Regions from separate parts of the Homo sapiens genome. Here regions 2 and 3 are each linked to region 1. The links are contacts of gene promoters, found by promoter capture Hi-C in human tissues and cell types (Jung and others, 2019). All regions are on one chromosome and are shown on one strand. The core of a region is centred on a gene start or on the middle of the fragment in contact, and the rest is flanking DNA. Distances in the headings are between cores, read along the strand shown. Region 1 holds the start of RSPH6A (radial spoke head 6 homolog A). Region 2 has its middle 6.8 kb from the start of IGFL3. Region 3 has its middle 25 kb from the start of IGFL1.

What was found. The method cuts DNA at HindIII sites, captures the fragments that hold promoters and counts their contacts. A contact is called where the count stands out against the background at its distance.
Region 2: a contact is called between a fragment that was not itself captured here and the fragment with the promoter of RSPH6A in region 1, in 2 of the 25 tissues and cell types used here (dorsolateral prefrontal cortex and liver).
Region 3: a contact is called between a fragment that was not itself captured here and the fragment with the promoter of RSPH6A in region 1, in 1 of the 25 tissues and cell types used here (aorta).

Annotation. Positions count from the first base shown.
Region 1 is chr19:45,813,301-45,817,615 of GRCh38, reverse strand. It overlaps RSPH6A (radial spoke head 6 homolog A), which reads left to right and starts at 2,308. Exons shown (of 6, transcript NM_030785.4): 1 at 2,308-3,089. The coding sequence starts at 2,440. It overlaps SYMPK (symplekin scaffold protein), which reads left to right. Exons shown (of 27, transcript NM_004819.3): 24 at 642-818; 25 at 1,039-1,134; 26 at 1,433-1,765; 27 at 1,919-2,206. The coding sequence ends at 2,056. RefSeq lists a silencer at 315-404 and an enhancer at 565-634. The HindIII fragment of the contact is 35,300 bases long and covers 1-4,315 here.
Region 2 is chr19:46,129,172-46,133,889 of GRCh38, reverse strand. It overlaps a transcript of IGFL2 not described here. Among named protein-coding and RNA genes, the nearest start is that of IGFL3, 6.8 kb to the right of the region's middle. RefSeq lists enhancers at 1-250, 251-1,082. The HindIII fragment of the contact is 6,419 bases long and covers 1-4,718 here.
Region 3 is chr19:46,252,298-46,256,806 of GRCh38, reverse strand. No RefSeq gene overlaps it. Among named protein-coding and RNA genes, the nearest start is that of IGFL1, 25 kb to the right of the region's middle. The HindIII fragment of the contact is 4,943 bases long and covers 1-4,427 here.

The DNA.
Region 1 (4,315 bases), core at 1,059-3,558:
TTTAGAAATACCACGATAAGGCCAGGTGTGATGGTTCACACCTGTAATGCCAACTCTTTGGGAGGCCGAGACAGGAGGACTGCTTGAGCCCAGGAGTTTGGGGCTGCAGTGAGGAAGAAACGCGCCACTCACTGCACTCTAGCCTGGGCGGCAGAGTAAGACCATCTCTCAAAAAAAAAAAAAAAAAAAAAAAAAAAAGAGAACAAAAAAACCAAACCCCGCAGGACTAATGTCGCCCCCTGGAGGCTGCGGTGAGAATGTACATGTGACCCAGGACAGGTCCCGGCACCGGCACGGACCTCCGCTGTTTAGCAGGGGTAATTTCGCCCCCTGGAGGCTGCCGTGAGAATGTCATGAGAGGTGCTCCCGCAGCACTTAGCCTGGGCCTGGCCCAGGGGGAGCTCTGGTAAAAGGCGGCTGAGTTTTCTTCCACCCCCTTCCCAAGTTGCCCTCGTGGTCCAGCCGCCTGGATCGGGAAGACAAAGGCCTCTGGAGGGAGGTCGGGGCTGCTTGTTGCCCATCCAGAGGAATCTTGGATGGTGGGATTTGGGCATGGTCTTGGCAAGGTCTTTCTCCCAGTGTCAAGGCTCGGGGGGATGCCTGTGTGCCTCTCCCGACGGCTCCCTCCCTCCCTGGTTCAGGTGTGGAAGTACCCCAAGGTGTGGGAGGGCTTCATCAAGTGCTGCCAGCGCACAAAGCCCCAGAGCTTCCAGGTCATCCTGCAGCTGCCGCCCCAGCAGCTGGGAGCCGTCTTTGACAAGTGCCCAGAGCTCCGGGAGCCCCTGCTGGCCCATGTCCGCTCCTTCACCCCCCACCAGGTACCCCTTCCCCCCACCAGGTACCCTTTCCCCCCACCCAGGGTGTGCGGTGGGCGGCCCCCTGGGTCCCTCTGGTTGGTGGGGACTGGATGGAGGCGGACACAAGAAGGCCCTGCACTGCTGGGAGTTCTGGAGGGTTAGGGCCCCCGGACCTGAGGTGTGCAAATGGGGTCTCTGTGCCAGAGCTGCCCCCAGCGCCCCCTTCCTGCTCTCCACCCAGCAAGCTCACATCCCTAACTCCATCATGACCATCTTGGAGGCCAGCGGCAAGCAGGAGCCAGAGGCCAAGGAGGCGCCTGCGGGGCCCTTGGAGGAGGTGAGGGCCCTGCAGCCCACCCATCTGGATCCCCAGACTCCCACCCCCTACCCCAAGCCAGCAAGGCTCACCATGGCCTCCTCCTGACCCCGAGAGACTCAGGCCACCCCTGCCTCTGGGCCACCCGTCTCCCAGGGGATGCTCCTGCTGGGAGTTGGGGGTCTGGGGGACAACTGCCCCTTCCTCCCCATGCTCTTGGTGAAGAACTCAAAGACCACCTCAGGGTGGTTCCTTCTCTTTCCGGCCGTCCTCTGAGCCACCCACCTCTGAGCTTCTGTGTGGCCCTCCCTATCCCCAGGATGATCTGGAGCCCCTGACCTTGGCCCCGGCCCCAGCACCCCGGCCCCCTCAGGACCTCATCGGCCTGCGACTGGCCCAGGAGAAGGCCTTAAAGCGGCAGCTGGAGGAGGAACAGAAGCTGAAGCCGGGAGGAGTGGGAGCCCCCTCCTCTTCCTCCCCCTCTCCCTCTCCGTCGGCCCGGCCAGGCCCGCCCCCGTCTGAGGAAGCCATGGATTTCCGGGAGGAGGGGCCTGAGTGCGAGACCCCGGGCATCTTCATCAGCATGGATGACGACTCGGGGCTGACCGAGGCCGCGCTGTTGGACTCTAGTCTCGAGGGCCCCCTACCCAAGGTAGGGAGAGCAGCCTCCGCTGCGAAGGAAGAAGCCGGATCTGGGCCGGGGTGAAGGTGGGGGAGGAGGGGCCATCAGGGGGCAGGGCCTGAAGGGGAGCGTGGAGGTGACCGCGCCCTCCACCCGGCTGCCCTTTCCTTCCCCGGTCACCAGGAGACGGCAGCGGGCGGGCTGACCTTGAAGGAGGAGCGGAGCCCCCAGACCCTCGCACCTGTTGGAGAAGATGCTATGAAGACTCCCAGCCCGGCTGCCGAGGACGCCAGGGAACCCGAGGCCAAGGGGAACAGCTGACGGGGCTCGAGGGGGAAAGGGGGTGGGACAGGGACTCGGGGCTGGGGGACGGGGCGGGGCTTGACCTGCGGGTGCTTTGCCTTAAAAAGAAATAAAAGATGTGAACTTGGGCAAGTTACTGAAAAGAAAAAAAAAAAGGGATGGCGGGCCTGGGGCGCGGGTGCCGTCTCGAGTCTGGCGCGACGTCCACCGTGGGGCTGCGCGGGATCGGGAGTGCGCGCCCAGAGCCTGCGCGGAACCCACCCTGGCCCGCTCCCCGCGCCCTCCACGGGTAACGGCCCCCTCTCTCGGTGCTCAGAAACCGGCGGTGTCGACAGGTGGCTCTCGCTTGGCCTCCTTGTCTGCAAGCCTTTCTCCTAGAGATCTGTGCCTCCTGGCGAACCATGGGAGACCTGCCGCCCTACCCTGAGCGCCCTGCCCAGCAGCCTCCGGGCCGGAGGACTTCTCAGGCCTCCCAGAGGCGGCACAGTCGGGACCAAGCTCAGGCCCTGGCAGCGGACCCCGAGGAGAGGCAGCAGATACCTCCAGACGCCCAGCGAAACGCCCCTGGTTGGTCACAGAGGGGCAGCCTGTCCCAACAGGAGAACTTGCTGATGCCCCAGGTCTTCCAGGCTGAGGAAGCCCGGCTGGGTGGCATGGAGTACCCATCTGTGAACACGGGCTTTCCCTCAGAGTTCCAGCCTCAGCCTTACTCTGATGAAAGCAGGATGCAGGTCGCCGAGCTCACCACCAGCCTAATGCTGCAGCGGCTCCAGCAGGGCCAAAGCAGCCTGTTCCAGCAACTGGACCCCACCTTCCAGGAGCCCCCAGTCAACCCCTTGGGCCAGTTCAACCTCTACCAGACAGACCAGTTCTCTGAAGGTGCCCAGCACGGGCCTTACATAAGGGATGACCCTGCCCTTCAGTTCTTGCCCTCTGAGCTGGGCTTCCCACACTACAGTGCCCAGGTGCCTGAGCCCGAGCCTCTGGAGCTGGCCGTGCAGAACGCCAAGGCCTACCTGCTGCAGACCAGCATCAATTGCGACCTCAGCCTGTGAGCAGGGGCTAGGAGTGGGGCGGGTGGGGGACCCAGGCAGGGAGGGGCCCCACCCGAAGTGCCTGCCTCAGTCAGTCAGACAAGGGATCATCCCTCATGGAAAACCAGTGACTCTAATTCAGCTGAGTCGGAATCAATGCCAACAACAGCTAGCATTCACTTCCCAGACATGTGCTGGCACTGCACACACTCACCTAATTCTCACCGGAGATGAGCACATCAGCTCATCCTACTTTACAGAGGAGGAGACCGAGACACAGAGAAGTTGGGTCGCTTACCCAAAACTACACAGCTAGGATATGGCAGAGTCAGGATTCCAGAACACGTGATTTGGCTCCCCAAGCCCTCTTGCTTTTTTTTTCCCCCAGACATAGTCTCACCCTGTCACCCAGGCTGGAGCACAGTGGCGTGGTCTTGGCTTAGGGCAACCTCTCCTTCCCAAGTTCAAGTGATTCTTCTGCTTCAGCCTCCCGAGTAGTTGGGGTTACAGGCGCGCTCCACTTCACCCAGCTAATTTTTGTATTTTTAGTAGAGGCAAGATTTCACCATGTTGCCCAGGCTAGTCTCAAACTCGACCTCAAGTGATCCGCCCATCTCAGCCTCCCAAAGTGCTAGGATTGCAGGCATGAACCACCGTGCCCAGCCCTCCTGAGACCCTCTTATCCTGCAACTAAACCTCCCTGCCTGAGGAAGATACTTGCCAAAGCCACTTAGCTACAGTCACAAAACACTGCTCTCAGCCTCCATTAGATACCCAGGATGCTCTCATTCTAGGAGAGTGGACAAGAAACAGAAAAAGTGATAAACTGAAGCTAAGGACTCAGGTGAAAAATAAGGGAGGCTAAGAGGGCTAGGGAACACATGAAATAGTGGGGGTCCAACCAGGTGCGGTGGCTCACGCCTGTTATCCCAGCACTTGAGGAGGCCAAGACGGGCGGATCACCTGAGGTCAGGAGTTCGAGACCAGCCTTGCCAACATGGCGAAACCCTGTCTCTACTAAAAAATACAAAAATTATCAGGGCATGGTAGCATGGGCCTGTAATCCCAGCTCCTCGGGAGGTTGAGGCAGGAGAATCACTTGAACCCGGGCGGCAGAGGTTGCAGTGAGCCGAGATCGTGCCACTGCACTCCAGCCTGGGCAACAGAGCGAGACTCCATCTCAAAAAAATAAATTGTGTGGGTCAGTGAAGGCCTGTCCAAGGAGGTGACATTTGATTAGGGC
Region 2 (4,718 bases), core at 1,506-4,005, 320 kb before region 1:
AAAACTATTTTGACCTCATGTCAGTTTCTATTGCATTGAGAGCCCAAGAACCCAAGACCAGTAATGTATTATTTAGGGGCTTGCCTGGGATCATGGTGTAGAAAATAAAATAAGTAGAGGTTCCTCTTCAGAGGGACTTTCCTCCCAGTCTAATTGAGAATAGATAGTAACCTCTCTTAGAAGCAAAATTTACTCAAAGACCTGTGCTAATATTCTTAAATATCTGCTAGCCATAATAAAGAAATCAATATACTCTGCGTTCTTAGCTACCGCATTTTAGCCTAGATATTTGCCCTGGCATGCCTGAACAGGCCCAAGCAAGCATTAGGTCATAGCCTATTCCTCTTCCTTATTTGGAAGTGCTTTTGCCTCTCTCAGCATTCCACAAGTTACTTCCTGTCTTCCTTTGTTCTCCTCTGCCTTTGCCTCTTTGGGGAAGTTCTAAGTTGCTAGCCAATCAGGTCAAGTACAGAATGTGAGGTCCCATTCCAGCCAACGGAAGCCAGACACAGCAGTAGGGTGGCATATCAGGTTATAAATGACCCTGTCTCCTTTGTTCGTGTGTGCTCTCATGGCAAGACTGCTAGCAAGCGGCCCTCTTTCTGCAGAAAGTAAACTAGCCTTGCTGAGAGATCCTTTGTCTCAGTGTTGATTTTTGTGACACCGAGCACCCATTCCCAACAATGGGATGTGGGGAGCCTTTCTCTCCCTGAGGGGGAGACTTGTGAGCTGATGGGACTGCTGGACAAGATCCCTTCACGGCTGACAAGCAGCTGCCTGAACTTCTGATTCAGTGTCGCCAAGCTGGTTGAGTCTTTCTCCAGCCTGCCAGCCCTCCTTGCCTCCCCCATCCCTCCTGCAGGCAATGCTTTTCTCCCTTCCCTTCTTGCTTTCTCTCCTTTTCACTTCCTAACTTTTCTGTCACTTAGGGTGCCTTGTCTCTCCTCTCCTAATCCTTAGTGGTTTGGGTCACGTGAACAGATATCTGTGAGGGACAGGTTGAAATCGTTGACTACCTGGATCTGATCAACTCAGCAGGCAGTGGGACAGAGTGTACCTTTTCCCTGGCCTAAGTTGGTTTGGGTTCCAGTCCCAAGAAACAATTCTATCCATCCCTCCCTCCCTTTCTCCCTCCTTCCCTTTCTTCTTCTTTCCTCTCCCTCTCCCTCCCTTTCTCCCTCCTTCCCTTTCTTCTTCTTTCCTCTCCCTCTCCCTCCCTCTCTCCCTCTATCGTTTTCCCTCCCTCTTCCTCTCCTTCTCTCTCCCCTTCTCTGTCATACTGGCCCTCAATCCTGTAACTCTATTCAAAACCCCTCACCACTTCACTTTCTCTTTGCCACACCATGTGAGGAGGGGAAGCCTGTGGACTTTTCTGTCATCTGTCTGTTTGGGTGTGTGAGTCTATCAACTTTGGGTGCTGGCTTTTTAAGGAGAGAACTGACAGCACGTGGAACCAAAGTTTGTGTCACTTATGTCCCAATGAATTGTTTTCTTTCTGTGCATTTAATTCAATATCTTATTTTCCCATGCAACCCACTGGTTGGCCTCTTGTAAAAAGGAGAGACTTTTGCCTATGGTTCCATGAAATGGAAAGGGATCATTTTCTTTTGTAACGTGGCTTGGCCCCCACAGCTATGCCACAGGGAGCAAGGTCACCAAAGTTGCTCAGAAAAAGAGAACCCAAAACCGTAGCATGCCAGCAAAAGGGTAAGAATTTCTTACCAGCCAGGCTTCTGGACTTTCTCTGTGTGTGTGTGAAAACTGGTTAAGTGAATGACAAAATTCACTGTTTCCCTCCTCTGCAAGGCTTTAACCCATTTCCTGTTGGCCAAGAATATTCTTATCTTTAATACTAATGTAAAATCATATACATTTCTGCTACGTTAATACTAGAGACAAGTTCTGTTTAGAAACAACTCCAAGAACAGTTTTGTTTTTGTTGTTGTTGTTTGAGAGGGAGTCTCGCTCTGCTCCCCAGGCTGGAGTGCAGTAGCATAATATTGGCTCACTGCAACCTCCACCTCCTGGGTTCAAGCGACTCTCCCACTTCAGCCTCCCGAGTAGCTGAGACTACAAGCATAGGCCACCATGCCCGGCTAACTTTTGTATTTTTAGTAGAGACAGGGTTTCACCATATTAGCCAGGCTGGTCTTAAACTCCTGGCCTCAAGTGATCTGCCTGCTTCAGCCACCCAAAGTGCTGCGATTACAGGCATGAGCCAAGAAGGGGTTTTTATGTTTTATTTTCACACTGAAAATCAGTCATATTCGCTTCAGCCTCGAAGAGCATGTTTACGTAAAATTAAATGGGTGTTGACAGCAAACTAGACCTAATAAAAAAAGAAGTCGATAAACCTCTGAGACAGAAAGTATTAAAACATTAGAATGCTCATGCTTTCCAAAGCCAAACAATGTTTACAAAAAAATTTCATCTGAATTCCCATTTTTAAATTTTGCTATTTTTTAGGAGGAGGGTTTAGAAAATTACTTGGGAGCTCTTAAAGCTGACTGCACAAATATTGTCGAGTAAAGCTTAATGTAGTGTAATAAGGAGAGAAGTTTTTGTCTATTATTAAAATTTAAAACAAAGCTACTGTAAATGAACCAGACACTACCTAGAAAAATTACACATAAATCAATTGAACAGAGTCCATCAACAGATAAAGCTAATAATGGAAAACTGAGATATAAGAAAAGTAACATTGTACATTAGAAGAAAAGGGATGAAACTAGTCAACAAGTAATTTCAGATTCAATAGGACATTCATTAGCAAGAAAATTAACTTAGACTCAGCATCACATCTTATAGAAAAAGTTATATGTGAATAAAAATGACTAAAAAGAAAGTAAAAATATAGAACTATTCATAGAACTTTAAGTTGGAGATGGCCTCCTTACGTAAGCGGAAGCCAAAAAGTGGAAAGAAGATGTAGGGCAGTGGTAAAAGACACTGCTGCATAAAAATTTAAAATATCTCAAAAAAGAAGACTCCACCAGCATTACTGAGAAACAAACACAAAGGCGAGGAAAACATATAACAGACAAAAGGTTAGTATCTCCCATATAAAAAGAGCATTTATAAATTAATAAGAAGGAAGCAAACAACCCAAAACAATTATTCTGAATAGTGTATCATTTACAGAAAAGGAACTATACATCATTAAACATAAAAATAATGAGAAATACTGGGAACCTTCATCCAAGCTCATAAATTTCTTCTAATCTTAGTTCTTGCTCACTTTATTTTTTAATTTGGAACCTACCAAAGATAATAAATTCCTCTTTTTGCCACAGCTTAAGCTAGTTTAAACTGGCAAGCAACCACTTGCAAGTAACCAGTTTATAAACATAATGAAAAGGTGCTTCCAAGAACCTCAATAAACAGCATGTAGACAAACAAATGCCATATTTTAAATAACATGGTATGTTCTTTAACTCATCATCTGATGCTTGCTGGGGGAACTAAAATATTTATCAAAACTCTAAAGAAGTTATTGCCCTGTGAGATAATGAAAAAGGCTGTTTCATAGGAAACGTGTACTTCACCCACTTAGTTCAGGAGATCATACCCTGTAGTATTTGGTTTAAATAAACAGTGAACCTGAACCCTTGAAACTGCATGCAGTCCATCTCACATGCAATTACACCCACAGGCTCAAAATAAAGGGATGGAGGAAAATCTACCAAGCAAATGGAAAACAGAAAAAAGCAGGAGTTGCAATCCTAATCTCAGATGACTTTAAACCAACAAAGATAAAAAAAGACAAAGAAGGGTATTATGTAATAGTAAAGGGTTCAATTCAACAAGAAGGCCTAACTATCCTAAATACATATGCACCCAACACAAGAGCACCCAGATTCAGAGAGCAAGCTCTTTGAGACCTTCAAAGAGATCTAGACATCCATACAATAATAGTGGGAAACTTCAATACCTCACTGACAGTATTAGACAGATCATCAGGTCAGAAAATTAACAAAGATATTCAGGACCTGAACTCAGCACTGGATCAAATGGGCCTGATAGACATCTGCAGAACTCTCCACACAAAAGCAATAGAATATACATTCTTCTCACCACCACATGGCACACATTGAAAAATCGACCACATAATCAGACACGAAACACTCCTCAGCAAACACAAAAGAACCGAAATCATAACAACCACTCTCTCAGACCATAGCACAATCAAATTAGAAATCAAGACTAAGGAATTTGCTCAAAACCATACAATTACATGGAAATTGAATAACCTGCCCCTGAATGACTTTGGGGTAAATAATGAAATTGAGGCAGAAATCAAGAAGCTATTTGAAACCAATGAGAACAAAGATACAATATACCAGAATCTCTGGAACACAGCTAAGGCAGGAGTAAGAGGGAAATTTATAGTACTAATTGCCCACTTCAGAGAGTCAGAACTCAGCTTCACAACCTAACATCACAACTAAAAGAACTAGAGAACCCAGAGCAAACAAACCCCAAAGCCGGCAGAAGACAAGAAATAATCAAAATCAAAACTGAACTGAAGGAGACAGAGACACACACACACACACACACACACACACACACACACACACACACAAAAGATCAACAAATCCAAGAGTTGGTTTTTTGAAAAAAATTAATAAAATAGATAGAACACTAGCTAGATTAAAAAAGAAGAGGGAAGATCCGAATAAATACCATTAGAAATGTAAAGGGGGATATTATCACTAACC
Region 3 (4,509 bases), core at 707-3,206, 440 kb before region 1:
ATTTATGTAAAAAAAAAAAAAAAAAAAAAAAAAACAGCTGGCTATGGTGGTGGTGCATGCCTGTAGTCCCAGCTACTCTGGAGGCAGAGGCCAGATGATTGCTTGAGCCCAAGTTCATCCAGCCTGGGGAACATAGTTGAGACCTTGTCTCTGGAAAAAAAAAACACCCAAAACCAAAACCCCAAAAAACCCTGTTCTCTTTTATCTCCATGGAAGAAATGAGCCCAAGGAGGGCACCTGGAGAATCCTCAACGTGAGAAGTCCAGCATTCGCTGATGCATCCAAACTAGTGCCAGCATTAGTTTTGCCCAAAGTGTCACAAAGTCCCTCATGGAGGTATCTCTTTCTGCTTTTAGAGAGGTGTTAAAGGAGAGTGGTAAATAATAGGTTTTGGTTTTATTTATCCACTTAATGAAAACTAAAATGTTTACTCAGTACCTCTGTGTACCTGGCCCTGTGACACAGGGTGAGGTCACTGTGTTGCCCATGGTTTGTTAGTGTGTAGAAATGCAATAGAGTTTTGAGTGTCAATTTCACACTTTGCAACTTTGCTGAATTTTTTGTTAATTCTTTTTTTTTCTGAGACAGACCCTCACTCTGTCGCCCAGGCTGGAGTGCAGTGGTGCAATCTCGGCTCACTGCAACCTCTGTCTCCCAGGTTCAAGCGATCCTCCTGCCTTCATCTCCTGAGTAGCTTTGATTACAGGTGCGTACCACCACACCCCGCTAATTTTTTGTATATAGTAGAGACGGGGTTTTGCCATGTTGGCCAGACTGGTCTTGAACTCCTGACCTCAGGTGATTCACTCACCTCGACCTCTCAAAGTGCTGGGATTACAGGCGTGAGCCACTGCGCCCGGCCTTGTTTGTTAATTCTAACAGGTGTTTTATTTGGGGTGTGTGTGTGTGGAAGGTTTAGTGTTTTCTATAAATAAGATTATGTTTCTGTGAATAGAGATGCTTTTACCTCTTCCTTTCCAATTTGGATGCTTTTAATTGTTTTAACCACCAAAACAATTCTCTATTATTTTTTTGGTCATGAAGTCCTTGTAATGATAGTAGGGCTGGGTACCATATTGGTGTCACACTCTGCCAGTCATCCAAAGAATATGCCAGACTTTTTTTTGTTTCAACTCCTGTGTGTACTAGTACGTCACTGGGCCCATCAGGTGGCTCACCAAGAGAATTTCAGTAATGGATTTCGGCTCTCTGTGCATAATAGATGACAGTCCTTACGAAGGATTCCGTTTGTCTTATAGCTTAGATTTGAACCTGCTGCAGATGTCACATTTACATTCTTGGATGGGTTTTTATCATCAGTTTCACCTCCTCCTCCTCTTCTTCCTCCTCCTTTTCTCTCTGGATGCTTTTAATTCTTTTCTTTTCTTTTTTTTTTTCTAAAGGTTCTGGCTAGCACCTCCAGTACAATGTTAAATAGCAGTGGTAGAAGCAGGTCTCTTTGTCTTGTTCCTGATCTTGGAGGAAGAGCCTTCAGTCTTTCACCCTGGAGCTCACGGCCTAGAGAAGAAGGCACAGAAATGAGCAAATTATGCAAATTAATGTATCATTTCAATTAGTGATATGTGCAACAGCAAGTAGCATAAGACATATTAATGTGTAAAATTTTGTCTCGGAAGGAGGAGAAACTTTCTCAAAGAATCTGCGTCCTGAGTAATTGGTAGGAGTAGGAAATCTATTAAGGTGATAGATACTCTAGCAGGGATTGCCCTAATTTCTTTTTGGCATTGGCCCCACTTAACAACGGAATAGGAAAACCTCCAGGAAGGAAGGAAGCTAAAGAAACCGGACTGGTTAACCAAGGAACCAGATCTGTTGCCTAAAAGTGAATCATCAAGTTTGTGGCTATTCCTGTAGGGCATGGTAAATGCCCACAACACATGGCCCTGAAGTTTGTTCTTCTTTCTGACTTTGATGGAGTTCAATTTATTGGTGTTTACTATTTTGCCTGGACTTTTGGTGTCACATCCAAGAAATCTGCCAAGTCCAATGTCAGGAAGCTTTCTCCCTATGTATTCTTCTAAGAGCTTTATAGTTTTAACTTTTGCATTTAGGCCTTGGATCTCATTAGTTTTTTGAACTAATTCTTGTGTATGGTTAGAGATAAGGGTCCAACTTCATTTTTTTTTTTTTTTTTTTGAGATGGAGTCTCGCTCTGTTGCCCAGGTTGGAGTGCAGTGGCGCGATCTCGGCTCACTGCAAGCTCCGCCTTCCAGGTTCACACCATTCTCCTGCCTCAGCCTCCCAAGTAGCTGGGACTACATGTGGCCACCACCATGCCCAGCTAATTTTTTGTATTTTTTTTAGTAAAGACAGGGTTTCGCTGTGTTAGCCAGGATGGTCTCGATCTCCTGACCTTGTGATCCGCCTGCCTTGGCCTCCCAAAGTGTTGGGATTACAGGCGTGAGCCACCGCGCCTGGCCTGTTCTTTATTTTTCAAAATTATTTTGTCTATTCAGGGTCCCTTAAGAGTCCATGCGAATTTTAGGATTTTTTCTGCTTCTGCAAAATTGTCATTGAGATTTTGATAGAGATTGCTTTGAAGCTGTAGATCACTTTGGGTAGTATGGACATTGTTACAATATTAAATCTTCCAACCCATGAACACAGACTGTCTTTCCATTTATTTGTGTCTTCATTACTTTTTTTCAACAATGTTTTGTAGTTTGCACTATACAAGTCATTTGCTCTCTTGGTTAAGTTTATTCTGAATTATTTTATTCTTTTTTTATTTTTATTTTTTGAGACAGAGTCTTGCTCTGTGGCCCAGGCTGGAGTGCAGTGGCATGATCTTGGCACACTGTAACCTCCCCCTCCTGGGTTCAAGCAATTCTCTTGCCTCAGCCTCTGGAGTAGCTAGGATTACAGGCGAGCGTCACCATGCCCGGCTAATTTTCATATTTTTAGTAGAGACGGGGTTTCACCATGTTGACCAGGCTGGTCTTGAACTCCTGACCTCAAGTGATCCACCTGCCTCAGCCTGCCAAAGTGCTGGGATTACAGGCGTGAGCCACCATGCCTGGCCTGAAGCACTTTATTCTTTTTGATGGTATTATAAATGAGGTAGTTTTCTTAATTTCCTTTTTGGCTTGTTCATTGTTAGTGTATAGAAATGCAAGAAATTTTTTTTTTTTTTAAGTTGAAGTCTCGCTCAATATCCCAGGCCGGAGTGCAGTGGCACCGTCTCAGCTCACTGCAGCCTCTGCCTTCCAGGTTCAAGTGATTCTTCTGCCTCAGCCTCCCGAGCATCTGGGATTACAGGTGCCCACCACCACACCCAGCTAATTTTTGTATTTTTAGTAAAGACTGGGTTTCACCATATTGGCCAGGCTGGTCTTGAACACCTGACCTCAGGTGATCTGCCCACCTCGGACTCCCAAAGTGCTGGGATTACAGGTGTGAGCCAACACACCTGGCCTAATTTTATATATGCAAATATATAAATATCTCTCTCTCATCAGTGGTAGAACATACATTTTTTTCAAGTCTATGTTAAACATTTATGCTAAATTGATCATATGATGGGTCATAAAGAAAGTCTCAGCTTCCAAAGGATGATTATTATTAAAAGTAGGTTTTTGAGCTGGGTGCTATGGCAGATGCCTATAATCCCAGATACTCAGGAGGCTGATGTGGGAGGATCACTTGAGCCTGAGAGTTCAAGTCTAACCTGGGCAACATAGTGATACCTCATCTCTAAAGAAATGTTCTCTGGGACTCCCAGCTTCCAGTCAAGCATGTAAGAGGCTTGGAACTCATCACTGCATCTTAACAGAAAGTGAATACTGAACAAAGAGAAAATTAACAATTCTTACATCCATTAGAGGAGTGGGATCACAGAGCAAACCACTGCCCTTAAGATTTCGAGAGACAGGCAGGTGGATACAGAGAATCAAAACTACTGCAACAGAAACCCATGACCAGAAACCCCTGTGGGAACCAGTACCAGGACAGGAAAACATGAAGTCTAATGAATGAATTCCTGGAGGCTCACGGCGGAGCAGTCTGAGAATTAAAAACTCCAGGGGGCCCAGTCTAAGGGGAGCCTCTGCATTTTTCTAAGAGTTTTACCTCCAGGAACCCTATCAGGTTCTCACAGTGAATATGGGAGAAAAATCTCCTTCATGGTCTGGCATGAAGTGGGAAGGGGGAAAGTAACCGCTGTGAAACACACCAGAGTATTCTGTTCTTCTTAACAAGCTCTGCCATTAAGAGAAAGCATTTTACCAGAATCTAAATTATTAGGGTTTTATCAGAGCCTAAATGACCTGGAGGAAGAGAGTATTATTTTTATACAGGACAGTAAACAAGTATTCTTTGCTCTAAAGGGAAACCTTACCTCTGTCTTCCAAGGCAGTACACTACACAAACATCCTTGAAAAGAGTGTGGAACAAAAGGACAGTCAATGCCTCACTGCCAGGCCAGCAAAAAAGCAAGAGATCCATGGGGAATTGTCTCTGACACTAACAAACCAATATTTTTGCAAAGTA